Regions from separate parts of the Homo sapiens genome. Here region 1 is linked to region 2. The links are contacts of gene promoters, found by promoter capture Hi-C in blood cells and fetal thymus (Javierre and others, 2016). All regions are on one chromosome and are shown on one strand. Each heading gives the region's core, a stretch centred on a gene start or on the middle of the fragment in contact. The rest is flanking DNA. Distances are from core to core; before and after follow the strand shown.

What was found. The method cuts DNA at HindIII sites, captures the fragments that hold promoters and counts their contacts. A CHiCAGO score of 5 or more calls a contact.
Region 1: a fragment that was not itself captured here is called in contact with the fragment with the promoter of RPS9 in region 2 in 2 of 17 cell types (neutrophils and M1 macrophages); the score reaches 5.5 in neutrophils.

The regions. Positions count from the first base shown.
Region 1 is chr19:54,318,187-54,322,613 of GRCh38, reverse strand. It overlaps the pseudogene VN1R104P. Among named protein-coding and RNA genes, the nearest start is that of LILRA5, 7.2 kb to the right of the region's middle. The HindIII fragment of the contact is 476 bases long and covers 1,316-1,791 here.
Region 2 is chr19:54,198,310-54,202,954 of GRCh38, reverse strand. RPS9 (ribosomal protein S9) reads right to left here and starts at 2,097. Exons shown (of 5, transcript NM_001013.4): 1 at 2,067-2,097; 2 at 1,674-1,795; 3 at 1,346-1,468. The coding sequence starts at 1,770. RefSeq lists a silencer at 1,784-2,277 and an enhancer at 2,040-2,709. The HindIII fragment of the contact is 3,345 bases long and covers 91-3,435 here.

The DNA of each region.
Region 1 (4,427 bases), core at 304-2,803, 120 kb before region 2:
TATCATTGGAGGTGACTCACACTCTTTACCCTGCCCCTTCTGCCTTGTATCCAATAAATAACAGCGCAGCCCAACATTCGGGGCCACTACCGGTCTCCGCGCATTGGTGGTAGTGGTCCCCCGGGCGCAGCTGCCTTTTCTTTTATCTCTTTGTCTTGTGTCTTTATTTCTACACTCTATCGTCACCACACACAGGGAGAGACCCACCGACCCTGTGGGGCTGGTCCCTACAAATGCAGTGGCACAGTCTCAGCTCACTGCAATCTCCACCTCCCAGGTTCAAGCAATTCTCCTGTCAGAGCCTCCCGAGTAGCTGGGATGACAGGAGTGTGCCACCATGCCCAGCTAATCTTTTTATTTTCAGTAGAGGTGGGGTTTCACCATGTTGGCCAGGCTGGTCTTGAACTCCTGATCTTGCGATTCGCCCACCTCAGCCTCCCAAAGGTATGTTTATATTTCTATACCAAAACAAGAAACAAGACACAATGATGTCAGTCTAGCTTTATTCTGTCTCCTCTGCACTGTTTTCTCTCTCTCTCTCAACTACCCACTTTTAAAGGTATTGATTAATCTTTCATTTTAAAAAATAGATTACAAAATACACACACAATGACATAACACTATACCATTTTTCTCTGGTTCTGAGTAAAATAAAGTTAACTGTTGATAACGTCCTGAATCTTTCTTTTTCTTTTCTCCCTGCCACCCCAACTACACAACTACACGTCTTGGAAGGTCAGCCTTCAAGATAACTCATTCATCTCACCCACAGCTGCCCAGGACTCCACTGTGGGGAGGCCCAGGAATTTATTGAGTCTTTCTTTGATTGAAATTAAGTGGGTTCAAGTCATTGTAGTTTTACAAATCATAATTTTGGAATAAATAGCTTTGTAATTGTACAAGTTTGTTCTTAATGTTTGTATTCACCTGGAATAATGAGTTTCGTGAGAAAAAGGCATTTTCTGGGTGTCAGGCCTCTGAGCCCAAGCTAAGCCATCATATCCCCTGTGACCTGCACATACACATCCAGATGGCTGGTTCCTGCCTTAACTGATGACATTCCACCACAAAAGAAGTGAAAATGGCTTGTTCCTGCCTTAACTGATGACATTATCTTGTGAAATTCCTTCTCCTGGCTCATCCTGGCTCAAAAGCTCCTCTACGGAGCACCTTGTGACCCCCACACCTGCCCACCAGAGAACAACCCCTCTTTTTCCTTTACCTACCCAAATCCTATAAAATGGCCCCACCCCTATCTCCCTTCGATGACTCTCTTTTTGGACTCAGCCCACCTGCACCCAGGTGATTAAAAGCTTTACTGCTCACACAAAGCCTGTTTAGTGGTCTCTTCACACGGAAGCGCATGAAACCGGGTACAGTGAAAACACTCAATTGTATTTTTCAGTCTACAGATTCCTCTGATGAAAATAGAATCAAACTCCAACATCTCCTCTAAATGGAGATGGTTTCTGTTAACTTAAATTGGAGTATTACCTTTCTCATTCAGACCGCTGCTGGAATCCTTGGAAATTCTCTACTCCTTTACTTTTATAGCTTTACTTTTGTCCCCACACAAATAGTGAGACCCAGAGACCTGATTCTCAGCCAGCTGGTCTTAGCCAACAACCCGGTTCTTTTCTCTAAAGGGATCCCTCAGACAGTGGCGGCTTTTGGATTGAAACCTTTCCTGGATGAGGCTGGATGTAAACTTGTCTTCTACCTACACAGAGTGGCCAGAGGGGTTTCCCTCAGCACCACCTGCCTCTTCAGTGGCTTCCAGGCCATGAAGCTTCACCCCAGTATCTCTGGGAAGATGGAACTCTGAATTAGATCCCCAAAGTTTATAGTTTTCTGCTGTTTCCTCTGTTGGATCTTGAATCTTGTTGTAAATATTTATACTGCAAAGTAAATAACTGACCCAATAAAGAGCAAAAACATGAGTATGGAAAAAATGTATAGATACTGCTCCTCACCCTATCCAGGAAGATCGCTGTATGTAATAGTTGCAGTCATTTACTGCTGCACAGATGGTATATGTGTCTCCCGTATATGTGTCTCCCTCATGATCTGCACCAGCAGCTCCATGGTCCTCGTCCTGCATAGATACAAGCAGAGAGTCCAACATGTTCGCAGCCGCAACCTCTCCCGCAGAACATCTCATGAAACCACAACCACACACACCATCCTCATCCTGGTGAGCATGTTTGTCTCCTCTCATGCTCTAGCTGATATTTTGTCATTGTGCGTAACCCAGATTCAGAATCCAAGCCAATGGCTGAGAAGTACCTCTTTCCTGGCGTCTGCAGGATTCCCGACATTCAGCCCCTTTGTGTTCATTGTCAGTGACGCCCGAGTGTCACGGTTCTACTTTGTGTGCTAGATAAGGAAGAGAAATGCCCCAGGTATGGTCTCTGGGCTATAAATTGCCTCCAGACCATTGCATCCTCTATTTAATCACTTCCTCCACCCCGGTGTTTGAAGGCTCACACATCAGGCCTGTGAAGGTACACCCACACGCTGCCCTGGCCATTCAGAATCCCCAAACCTCCCACTCTGGGGTATGCAAGTGCACAGCAAAGACTCCACTTGGGAGCAATTATGCAACAGCTTGTATTCAAGTAATCTCACATGAAATAACATTAAAATGAAATTAAGTATAATAAAACCCAACATCTGGACAGAGTTTATTTTTGGAAGAAGTTTAATCAAAGGCAGCCATAAGCATGTAAATAAATTCCAACTCATTTACTCATTGTAAATTATTTTTATTTGTAACATTTATTTGTAAAAATTATTTGTAAACTCATTGTAAATTAAAATATTAAATTTACAATGGACATGCAAAAAAAGACTTGTAAATAAATGCATTATGTAGTAATACTAATTTCTTTATTGGGTCTCAAAGGAAACTTTTAACTTAAGACACTTTTATTTTACCAACAAATAACAATATTTCTCTCAGAATTATTCTTTGTAACACCACAACGGCTGTAACCCATCCAACTTCACTCAAAGAAAGTGAAGTAAGTGCTCTAAAGAAAAAAATATCCTGGCCGGGCACGGTGGCTCACACCTGTAATCCCAGCACTTTGGGAGGCCAAAGCAGGTGGATCACCTGAGGTGAGGAATTCGAGACCAGCCTGACCAACAGGGTGAAATCCTGTCTCTACTAAAAATACAAAAATTAACTGGGCGTGGTGGCTCATGCCTGTCATCCAGCTACTTGGGAGACTGAGACAGGAGAATCACTTGAACATGGGTAGCAGAGGTTGCAGTGAGCTGAGGTCAGGCTGTTGCACTCCAGCCTGGGTGACAGAGCGAGACTCCATCTCAAAGTAAAAGAAAAGAAAAAGATGAGAGAAGCTCATACCTTCAGAACTGAAACATAGGGAAAGAGGAAGCAGAAATTAAAGCAAATCGAAATTTCATTGCGTCATACGGTCAGGAAGGCAACGAAACAAAAGTTTGCAGAAGGGCTAAAAGTCACTGTCAGGAACTGCATTAACGTCATTACATTTAGGGTTTTTTGTGGGTTTTCTTTTTAGATTTTAGCAAAAAATTCATGAAGCAACTCTAAAATACTTATACTTCAATATGGTAAATTAAATTTATATTAGGACTTCAAATATAATCTTTTCCTCTCTGTTCTGAGTGTCATGCTTGTGACATTGATAGAAGGTGGACTCTAGGCAATAAAAGAAAAAATTCAATTTTTTACTGATAAATTCAGGTACAATAACCGCCTGTTATTTTATTGTGGACCATTTTTTCTCTTTTTTTTTTTTTTGAGACGAAGCTTCTCTCTGTCGCCTAGGCTGGAATGCAGTGGCACCATCTCGGCTCACTGCAACCTTCACCTCCTGGGTTCAAGTGATTCTCCTGCCTCAGACTCCCCAGTAGCTGGGATTACAGGTGCCCACCATCATGCCCGGCTAATTTTTAATTTTTAATAGAGATGGGGTTTCACCATGTTGGCCAGGCTTGTCTCGAACTCCTGACCGCAGGTGATCTGTCCGCCTTGGCCTCACAAAGTGCTAGGATTACAGGCGTGAGTCACCGCACCTGGCCCATTTTCTCTTCATGATAATTCATGAGTAGCTGGGATTACAGGCACCCACCACCATGCCCAGCTAAGTTTTTGTATTTTCAGTAGAGACGGTGTTTCACCATGTTGGCCAGGCTGGTCTCAAACTCCTGACCTCAGGTGATCCACCCGCTTCGGCCTCCCAAAGTTCTGAGATTACAGGCGTGAGCCACCTCACACGGCTTTATTGTTGTTGTTGTTTTTAATGTTACTCTATTTTTTTAGATTCAGGCGCTACACGCGCAGGTTCCTTACATGGATGCATTGCGTTCTGGTGGGGTTTAGGTGTCTAGTGCTCGCATTACCCATACGGCTCACCAGATATTACGGGGGAGGCAGAGGG
Region 2 (4,645 bases), core at 848-3,347:
AAGCTGAGGTGGATGGATCACTTGAGGTTAGGAGTTGGAAACCATCCTGGTCAACACTGCAAGATCCTGTGCCTATTTAAAGAAAAAGCTTCTAACATCTGCAAGCCTGGGACAAACTGTGATAATCTGTAGCTAAACATGCGCCAGGACTTTCTCAACGCCTAACATGGATGACCACTCTCATGCCTAACAGTCAGGGCTCAGGTGTAGAGACTGCTTTTCACCATAAATCATGACTACCCAAACTCAGGCAAAAGCAGCGTCTCAGGATATACAAATGCCAATCTTGGTCATGCCAATCTGCTGTAGAAAGCACTCCAATAACACCGCATCTCAGAGTAGATTTTAAAACAAGATGGTTAAGATGGTACATTTTCAATTTAATGTGTATTTCACCACAATTAGTAAAGTAAGCCTAAGTCTATGTGATCTGCATGCCCTCCTAAAGTCATCACCTGAAATGCTGTTCCCTGAGACATTTTACAGGTTCTCTCCTGTTCAGGCCTTTGCTAAATACCACCTAAATGTCCTTGACCAGCTTAAAAAAACAAGCACCAGCCTGGACAACATGGTGAAAACCCATCTCCACTAATAATAGAAAATTAGCCAGGCTTGGTGGCCCATGCCTGTGATTCCAGCTACTTAGGAGGCTAAGACAGGAGAATCGCTTGAACTCTGGAGGCGGAGTTTGCAGTGAGCCAAGATTGCGACAACTACACTCCAGCATGGGCAATGGAGCGAGACTCCGTCTCAAAAGTAAAATTAGCCAGGTGTGGTGGCGTGCGCCTGTCTGTAGTCCCAGCTACTTGGGAGGCTAAGATAGGAGAATTGTTTGAACCCAGGAGGCGGGGGTTGCAGTAAGCCGAAATGGCGCCACGGCACTCCAGCCTGGGCAACAGAGCAAGACTCCGTCTCAAAAGACTAAATAAAACGAGAAAACTTAATTAAAAAAACAATAAACCAAGCAAATGTGCAAACCCTGTTATCACCATCACTTAGCCCAGAAATTCCACTTCATAGTCTACTCTCATCCACTAGCAAACAGGCCACATAAACAGAATATAAAGATATAGACGGGTGCCCAGGTGTGCCAGGCCTATCTTTAGCTCTGGTCATTACTAAACTGAAGGTCCAATAACTGGGCAAAAAAGCCACACACCTAAGAAACAGGGCAAAGACTGATCCAGATACACTTTTCCTACTCCACAAGTGCCACTAAAAGTTAGAAGGCTGGTTCCATTTATCCAATGACACAACTCTCATCACTGGAACAGAGGCAACAGAAGGGAGAATGAACCTCACAAGCCCTGCACCCCATCCCTCTGCTGTGGACTCCCATACGCACCTTCGAACAGACGCCGTGGGTCCTTCTCATCAAGCGTCAGCAGTTCCCGGGCGGCCTTGCGGATCTTGGCCAGGGTAAATTTGACCCTCCAGACCTCACGTTTGTTCCGGAGCCCATACTCGCCTGGTGGGGAGAAGGGGGTGGACAAGTGTAGTCCCACGTACTGGCACAACAACTAGACTGGCAGCTTTGGAATCACAAAACCTTCCTAAACCACGAATAGTACCAAATTTAGGGGACGGACTAGATAGAGTACATGGGCACCTTCATCCACGTGCTAACCGCCTCCCGGAAGCCGAACCACTTCCCGGAAGCCTTGGCCACTCACCGATCAGCTTCAGCTCTTGGTCGAGACGAGATTTCTCGAAGGGTCTCCGCGGGGTCACATAAGTTTTGCGACAAACCCAGCTCCGGGCCACTGGCATGTTGGCTCCGCTTCCCCGTCTGCGCCTGCGCGGGAGAGAAGTGTGAGCGTAAGGGATCCAAACGGCGCCTGCGCAGTCCCACAACTACGCCAAAACCTCGCGGAGCCCAGATCCGATCTCGCGAGAATAACCTCCAACGCTCTCATAGTCAGTATCTGCCCCCACAACCGTGCTGCACTCCCGTTCAACCACCCTGCTCTGTTTCCTAACGTCTTTAGCTTACTCATGGAAACTCGGAAGGCCCGGGCCACCATCCAACCCAAACCCTAGAGAAAAAGCACACCACCGCACCTCACCTAAGCAAACCACCCGGTCACTGAGAAAGAGGCGCGGAAGCGCCACGGCTGCGCTCTTATAGTAACGCCGGCGTCTCGTGACGTTTTCACGCACCACGCACGTCAGAGCCAATCAGAAGAGGCGTTGGCTGGCTGAGAAGCAGTGGAGACGTGAGGCTGGGCTAGAGCGGCGTGCTAACCTGGGAGGACTAGGTTTTTTCCGGCCAGGGAGTGGAAACCTGAGAAGTAGGGAGAACCTTCCTTCTCCGCCCCTGGACGGTGGTTTTTCTTTTTCTTTCTGAGACAGGGTCTCGCTCCGTCGCCCAGGCTGGAGTGCAGTGGCGTGATTTCGGCTCACTGAGGCCCCGACCAACCTCTCGGGCTCGAGCGATCCTCCCACCTCCTCCCCAGTAGCTGGGATTACAGGCACACGCCACGACGCCCGGGTAGCATTTTTTTTTTTTAACAGTCGGCGTCTTGCCATGTTGCCCAGGCTGGTCTTGAACTCCCGGCCTCGAGAGAGCCTCCCGCCGTGGCCCCCCCAAAGTGCTGGGATTACAGGCGTGAGCCACCGCGCCCAGCCGAGATTATTTCTGTCACTAACAATAATGTGGCATTCTGGAACGCTATGTGCCACATACTGTTCTAAGAATTTTAAATGTATTTACTCAATCTTCAATACATACTTACAGAGCACTCTCAGAGAAGTTGCCCCCCCACCCATGGTACTATTATTATCAATAGCCACTTAAGGGGTATTAGTACTATTATCAGTAATTTATTTTATTTTTGAGACGGAGTTTTTCGCTCTCGTCACCCAGGCTGGAGTGCAGTGGTGCGATCTCGGCTCACTGCAACCTCCGCTTCCCGGGTTCAATCGATTCTCGTGCCTCAGCCTCCCGAGAAGCTGGGACTACAGGCGCCCACCACCATGCCCGGCTAATTTTTAAATTTTTAGTAGAGACGGGGTTTTGAACTCCTGGTCTCCAACGCCTGACCTCAAGTGATCCACCCGCCTCAGCCTCCCAAAGTGCTAAGATTACAGGTGTGAGCCACCGCGCCTGACCTAGAGTTCTCTTTTTATATATAGTCTGGTTATTGTCTGTCTGTACACCCATCTCTCCACTCCGAATGCGATGGTCTGTCTCCACAGCTCGTGTTCTTCAGTTGTCTTCCCTACGCTGCTGCCTCGGCAGTCACTATCTCCTCAGGAAGCAGTCCCACCCGCCCCTTTCTCTTCCACGGCATCCACACCATCCGGATGCCTGGATTCAAATGCCACGTCACCACTTGCCAGCTGCAGTGCCTTCGACAAGTTTCTCAATCACTCTGTGCCTCAGCGTCCTCCTCTGTAAAACGGCGAATGATGGTAGCGCCTACCTCATAAGCTTGTGAGGATTAAGTGAGAGTCTATCCAGTGTTGAGGAGAGTGGCATAAATAAAGCGCCTAGTGGTAGCTACCATCGTCATTATTGTCATCTGCATTGTACTTCCATATCTTACAAACTACCTTGTTCAGTTTTATGGGTTTTTTGTTTGTTTGTTTTGTTGTTTTGAGACGGGGTTTTGCCATATTGCCCAGGCTGGTCTTGAACTCCTGGGCTCAAGTGATCCACTCGCCTCAGCCTCCCCAAGTGCTGGGATTACAGGTGTAAGCCACCATGCCTGGCCAAATTTTATGCATTTTTGTATCTTGAACACGCGTATATTATTCATCTGGAAGGGGGAAACGTGGAAGGAAAAAACTTCCATAAGTTTTCACTCCCTTCAGGATGAAGTCCAAGCTCCACAAATTCCGGGTGCCTCGTGATTACAGAGATGGTTTTATAATGGTGGTTGAACCTGTAGGTTCTCAAGTCTTAAAAAAGATCTGCGTTTGAACCTCAGCAGTCACTGACGAGCTCTTGATCTTAGGCAAATTAGCCTCTTCAAGAGTGCTAAATGGGAGAAAGTAACAGGACTTTCCTCATAGGGTTTGATGATTTAGAGTAAAAAAAAAAAAAAAAGAAAAGAAAACCAGCACAGAGTCTTGTGTACTGAAGGTGCTTAATATCTTAACACAGCTGACTCTGTACAGTCTGGGGGCGAGGGGCACTGACCCCCAGCTCAGCCGAAAACCTCCATATAGGCTGGGCGCGGTGCCTCACGCCTGTAATCCCAGCACTATGTGGAAGGCCAAGGCCGGCGGATCAACTGAGGTCAGGAGTTCGAGACCAGCCTGGCCAACATGACAAAACCTGGTCTCTACTAAAAATACAAAAATTAGGCAGGCGTGGTGGCAGGTGCCTGTAATCCCAGCTACTTAGGAGGTTGAGGCAAGAGCATCACTTGAACCCAGGACGTGGAGATTGCAGTGAGCCGAGATCGCACCACTGCACTCCATCCTGGGCGACAGAGCAAGACTGCCTCAAAAAAAAAAAAAAAAATCAAGAAAGAAAATCTGCATATAACTTTTGACTTCCCCAAAACTTAACTACTAGGCCAGGCACCGTGGCTCACACCTGTAACCCCAGGTGGGATTTGGGAAGCTGAGGTGGGCAGAGCACTTGAGCCCAGGAGTTCAAGACCAGCCTGGGCAACACGGCAAAACCCAGACTCTA